Linked DNA regions of Homo sapiens: region 1 is linked to region 2. Evidence: promoter capture Hi-C in human tissues and cell types (Jung and others, 2019). All regions are on one chromosome and are shown on one strand. Each heading gives the region's core, a stretch centred on a gene start or on the middle of the fragment in contact. The rest is flanking DNA. Distances are from core to core; before and after follow the strand shown.

Region 1 (3,094 bases), core at 374-2,873, 590 kb before region 2:
ATCTGTGATGCAGAAAAGGTTGAGAACTCCTGGATATACAAGGCTGTAGGGGCCAAAAGCAGACATAGGTGCTTAGACCCTGGAGTAGGTGGGAGCTGGAAGATGATTTTGATGGTGCTGAGTAGCTGGAAATTTGAAAATGGGGGTAGGATGCCGGGCGCGGTGGCTCACGCCTGTAATCCCAGCACTTTGGGAGGCTGAGGCGGGTGGATCGCCTGTAGTCAGGAGTTTGAGACCAGCCTGGCCAACATGGTGAAACCCCATCTCTACTAAAAAATACAAAAATTAGCTGGGCATGGTAGCAGTTGCCTGCAATCCCAGCTACTCGGGAGGCTGAGGCAGGAGAATCACTTGAACCTGGGAGGGGAGGTTGCAGTGAGCTGAGATCGCACCATTGCACTCCAGCCTGGTTGACAGAGTGAGACTCTGTCTCAAAAAAAAAAAAAAAAAAAAAAAAATTGGGGGTGGGAATAGGGGTTGGAAGAGGTATAGATTTGGGAGTTATTACCTAGAGGGTAGGGACAAGTACCTCATGGGCAGACAAGCAGGGCAGGGGTGGCAGTGATTCATCAAGAGTTTGGCAGTCATAAGCAACAGAAACCTACTCAACCTCGTTCAGGCAATAGAGGGAATTTATTGCTAATGTGACTGAAGATTGAAGCAAGACTGGATCTGATGTCTCATGCAATGCCACTGGGACTTGGTTTCATGTCTCCATCTCTCAGTTCTGTTTCCCCCTCTGTCTTGGTCTCATTCTCAGGCAGCATCTCTGCTTGCAGTGGGAAGCTGGCTGCCAGCAGTGCCACGATTACATCCTACTCTCAGCAAACAGAGATTCACTGAACTGAATAGTTGTGACCAAAGTTCCAGAATTAAATCTCATTGGGTCACATGCCTGTTGCTGAAATGGTGTGGCAACAGGGCTCTCTATAATGCTGTGATTGGCCAAGCCTGGGTCACGTGTCCATTCCCGCAACTAGAGATAGTGTCATCTCTAGAGCCACATGGATTGAGAGTTGGGGCAGGGGCTGCTCTAGGAGAAATGGAAGTGCTGTTACCAGAAGGAAGAATGGACACCGGAATGGTAGCCACCGGGAAGGGAGCCGGAGTCCCACAGGCTGTCCCTCCTGTTAACATGAGGCAGCTATAGCAGTGGGGCAGTAGCGGGGAGGCACTAGGAGGCTGGGGGCTGGGCCAGCAGTGAGGGACATGGTAGATTGGGTCAAGTAATAGTAACACCATTGCCACTGCTGTTTGGGGCTGTGAAAAGGTCTAGGAGGGTTCTTCTGACAAAAAACCTGACAACATAAAAGACATAGTGCTAAGTAAGTCCTTGTCCTCAGAATAAAGGCAGGAAAAGCTGAACAGTTGGGTGACACCCCATCAAGATATTGCTGCTACTGGAAAGGGCAGACGTTGTCTGGGGACATTCATGGGATTGTGAGACAGGATGAAGGAAAGGGCACTGCCAGCTGGACTTGTGAAGGGAAGAAACAACCATTTTCCCCTCAAGTTTAAAAAATGAAGCTTATGCATTTTTACAATAGTAATAAATTCACAATAGCCCAAAACAACCCAAATTCCAACAGTAGGAGTCTGGGTAAATATTGCAATGCCCGGAGAGTAAAATGCAGCCTTTACAAATGATGCTTTATTTGACATGGAAAGATGTTCACAATGTAGTTTTTTTGTTTTGTTTTGTTTTTGTATTTTTTGTAGAGATGGGTGGGGGCAGGTCTTGCTATGTTGCCCAGACTGGTCTTGAACTCCTGGGCTCAAGTGATCCACCCGCCTCGGCCTCCCAAAGTGTTAGGATTATAGGTGTGAGCCACATTAGAGGTAGGACTACAGCTGAAGCTTATCTTCCTGTTTTTTTTTTTTAGGTGGGGTTTTGTTCTTGTTGCCCAGGCTAGAGTGCAATGGCGCAATCTCGGCTCACTGCAACCTCTGCCTCCCAGGTTCCAGCGATTCTCCTGTCTCAGCCTCCCGAGTAGCTGCGAATACAAGTGCATGCCACACCCAGCTAATTTTTGTATTTTTAGTAGAGAAAGGGTTTCACCATGTTGGTCAGGCTAGTCTTGAACTCCTGACCTCAAGTGATCCGCCCACCTCGGCCTCCCGGAGTGCTGGAATTACAGGCGTGAGCCACCGCACCTGGCTTTTTTTTTTTTTTTTTTTTGAGACAGAGTTTCACTTTTTTGTCGCCTAGGCTGGAGTGCAATGGCATGATCTCGGGGTCACTGCAACCTCCGCCTCCTGGATTCAAATGATTCTCCTGCCTCAGCCTCCCAAGTAGCTGGGATTACAGGCACCTGCCACCACACCGAGCAAATTTTTGTGTGTGTGTTTTTTAGTACAGATGGGGTTTTACCATGTTGGTCAGGCTGGTCTTCAACTCCTGACCTCAGGTGATCCACCAGCCTCAGCCTCACAAAGTGCTGGGATTACAGATGTGAGCCACTGTGCCTGGCCTGAAGCTTATCTTCTAATTTCTCTATAATAAACCTGCTTGATAGTGTGGTAGTGTCATAGTCAACTAGAGCCAGCCTCCTGAGTGCAAGTCTCAGCTCTGCCACTGCTTGGCATGGCGGCTATGGACAAGTCTCTTAACACCTCTGAGCTTCAGTTCATGTAACCATAAAGTGGGGGTAACAGTTCTTAACTCATAGGGTGGCTGTGAGTATTAAATTAGCTACTACTACCTGCAAAGCTATTAGCCATACCTGCAGTAAACACTAAAAAATGTAGTTCTTATTTTTGGGTAATTAAAAAATCCAAAAGAGGGCTGGGTGCGGTGGCTTACACCTGTAATCGCAGCCCTTTGGGAGGCCAAGGCAGGTGGATCACAAAGTCATGAGTTCAAGACCAGCTTGGCCAATATGGTGAAACCCCGTCTCTACTAAAAATACAAAAATTAGCTGGGCATGGTGGTGGGCACCTGTAGTCTCAGCCACTTGGGAGGCTGAGGCAGGAGAATTGCTTGAACCCGGGAGGCGGAGATTGCAGTGAGCCGAGATCGAACCACTGCATTCCAGCCTGGGTGACAGAGCGAGACTCCGTCTCAAAAAAAAAAAAAAAATCCAAAAGAAAATAT
Region 2 (2,763 bases), core at 264-2,763:
ACCAGGGACCCATCCCCTTCCACCCAGGAGCCTGTCTGTCTCCTGCTGCTGTTCATGGTGCCCAGGCTGTTCATGCCAAGGAGCGTCTGCAGGCCAGTGCCGAGCTGCCCTCAGTTTCCCCTTGGCTTTCCTTCCATGCTAGTCAGTGCCCAAAGTCCAGAGGGGGCCAAGGCAGCAGGGGTCTAGTGTGTCAGCACTGCCCCAAGCATGCCCACACCCAGCCAGGCTGCGACAGCACCCAGGCTCAGCACCAACTTTGCTCTAAGATCAGAGTGGGCGCCAAGAGGAGGGAGAAGCCAGGCAGTGGGAGCAGACACTTCTGAGCCTGAAGGGTGGGGCGGGGGGCCTTCCCGGGCCCCCAAGATTGCAGGGATGCCTGGGTCCACAGCTGCAGTTTAGGCAGCTGCAGCTGCATGGGGGATGGCGGGGGCCCCCACCTGCTCCATGAAGCAGGATCAGCTGTGGTTTGGCAGCTGCAGTGGTTCCCAGGAGGGCGGGGTTCCCACTGTCCCCAGCTCCCACTGGCTACATGGAGCATGCAGCCCTGGCCGTGCCTCCCTGCTGCAGCCAGTGTGATGACAGCAGCCATTCCAGACGGCCCGCCATTGCCATCTCTTTTTTTTTTTTTTTTTTTTGAGATGGGGTCTTGTTCTGTCTCCCAGGCAGGAGTGCAGTGGTAAGATCAAAGCTCACTGCAGCCTCAACCTCCTGGGCTCTAGCAATCCTCCCAGCTCAGCCTCCCAAATAGCTGGGACTACACAGGTGCATGCTACCACACCTGGCTATTTTTTAAATTTTTAGTAGAGATGGAGTTTCACCATGTTGGCCAGGCTGGTCTCGAACTCCTGACCTCAAGTGATCCGCCTGCCTTGACCTCCCAAAATGCTGGGATTACAGGCGTGAGCCAAAGCACCTAGACTTGCTGTTTTTTTAAATGTTGGCAAAAGCTAGTGACTAAGTGTTCACCATGTGCCAAGTGTTTTGTATGTGCAAGTCATTAAAATGTTATAATAATCAGATGATATAGGACCCCGTTCCCAGTGTACAGATAAAACTGAGGGCTCAGGAGGTCAAGTAATTTCCCAAAGACATGCAACTAGGAAGCAGCAAGTCTAGAAACAGATTGCTGTGCTTCCTTCTCACCAATGCACTGTTCTTTCTTCTTTGTATTTTCCAAGCTTTTGGCAATGAATTGCATGTCACTTTCATAATCATGAAAAGTCCTACAAGGGACAGATTTTTTTAAAGATTCCTTCCGCTCTGGTGTTCTGTGCTTCGCTGGTTCTCAGAACCTCACCCTGCACGGCCTCCACCCCACATCCTCACAGGCACTGGCCTCACTGCCCCCACTCCCACACCAGCTGTTGCTGGGGCAGGACGCCCAATGTCCCAGTCTTGCTGAAGTCTGCTTGAAATGTCCCTGGTGAGCTTCTGGCCACTGGGGAAGTTCAGGGGGCAGGTCTGAAGAAGGGGAAGTAGGAAGGGATGTGAAACTTGGCCACAGCCTGGAGCCACTCCTGCTGGGCAGCCCACAGGGTCCCTGGGCGGAGGGCAGGAGCATCCAGTTGGAGTTGACAACAGGAGGCAGGTGAGGCCAGAGTCCCAGAGGGAGGGGGCTGCAGAGTTCTGGGACCCAGGGGAGCTGGCCCAGGAGGCTGGGCAGCTGAGGCAGGGAGGGAGGGAAATAACTGTGCCTGATTCTAGGACAGGGATGGGGGTGCAGCACTGATCCAGGACCCAGAATGGGTGAGTGGAGGGACCTTAACTCCTTGAGCCAGGGCTTGGGGGAGGGTGAGAGGCGATGAGTTAGACCTAACAACTGAAGGGTAAGACCAGGGTTCCTGGGTCCTGGCCCCATAACACATAAGAAACCAGGAAAAGCCTGGGGTGCTAGAGCTGGCAGTGGGACCCAGCAGAGGGGACTGTAGGGGCAGCCAGTCACCCATGCTCAGGTGGATGCTGAAAGGCGCTGAGCATGCAGAAGAGTGAGCAGGTGTCGCTTTGGGCGTTTGTGAATTCCTGTGTGTATGCAGAGCTCCACCATCTGGGTGAGCCAGTGTTAATTAAATAAGGAGCAGGCGCTCAATACATATTTGTTCAATGAAATCGATTACCTGTGGGAGTGTATGAATGTGTGTGTCCGTGCAAGTGAGGGACAGGGTCTATTTGGGTATCAGTTGTGTGTCTAGGGGGGTATAGTGGATTTCTGAGTTTGCCTACTGTGTTTTGTAGGTGCGTGGATGAGAGCTGTGTTTGTGTGAGTGTGTGAAGATGTGGGTGTGCTCTGTTGCATGTGTGGATGTGTGTGAGTTTGTGGTTCTGTGTATATGCGTGGGGTCCTGGGGCTGGATTGAGAGTGGACATTGAGAGCCCCAGAGGGTGCATGTGCACTTGGGGAGGACTGTGCATATATCATTGTGTGCATGGGACTCAAGGGTGGGAGCTGGGTGTGAGTGTGATGTCCAACCTGCCCAGGCCCTCCCGTGTCTCCACAGAGGCATCATGGAGGGTCCCCGGGGATGGCTGGTGCTCTGTGTGCTGGCCATATCGCTGGCCTCTATGGTGACCGAGGACTTGTGCCGAGCACCAGACGGGAAGAAAGGGGAGGCAGGAAGACCTGGCAGACGGGGGCGGCCAGGCCTCAAGGGGGAGCAAGGGGAGCCGGGTAAGCACCCTTCCTCGGGACCCAGCCCCTTGGACCTTGGCCTGACTTGGCCTCCAGGGTGAAGGCTTGGGGTGGCACTGAGAATCAGGAGTCCGTCT

The links. Contacts are between HindIII fragments. The study calls those that stand out against the background at their distance.
Region 1: a fragment that was not itself captured here is called in contact with the fragment with the promoter of C1QA in region 2 in 3 of the 25 tissues and cell types used here (adrenal gland, dorsolateral prefrontal cortex and mesenchymal stem cells).

Annotation. Positions count from the first base shown.
Region 1 is chr1:22,047,857-22,050,950 of GRCh38, forward strand. No RefSeq gene overlaps it. Among named protein-coding and RNA genes, the nearest start is that of CDC42, 3.3 kb to the right of the region's middle. The HindIII fragment of the contact is 4,522 bases long and covers 1-3,094 here.
Region 2 is chr1:22,635,115-22,637,877 of GRCh38, forward strand. It overlaps C1QA (complement C1q A chain), which reads left to right and starts at 1,514. Exons shown (of 3, transcript NM_015991.4): 1 at 1,514-1,588; 2 at 2,496-2,665. The coding sequence starts at 2,503. The HindIII fragment of the contact is 11,741 bases long and covers 511-2,763 here.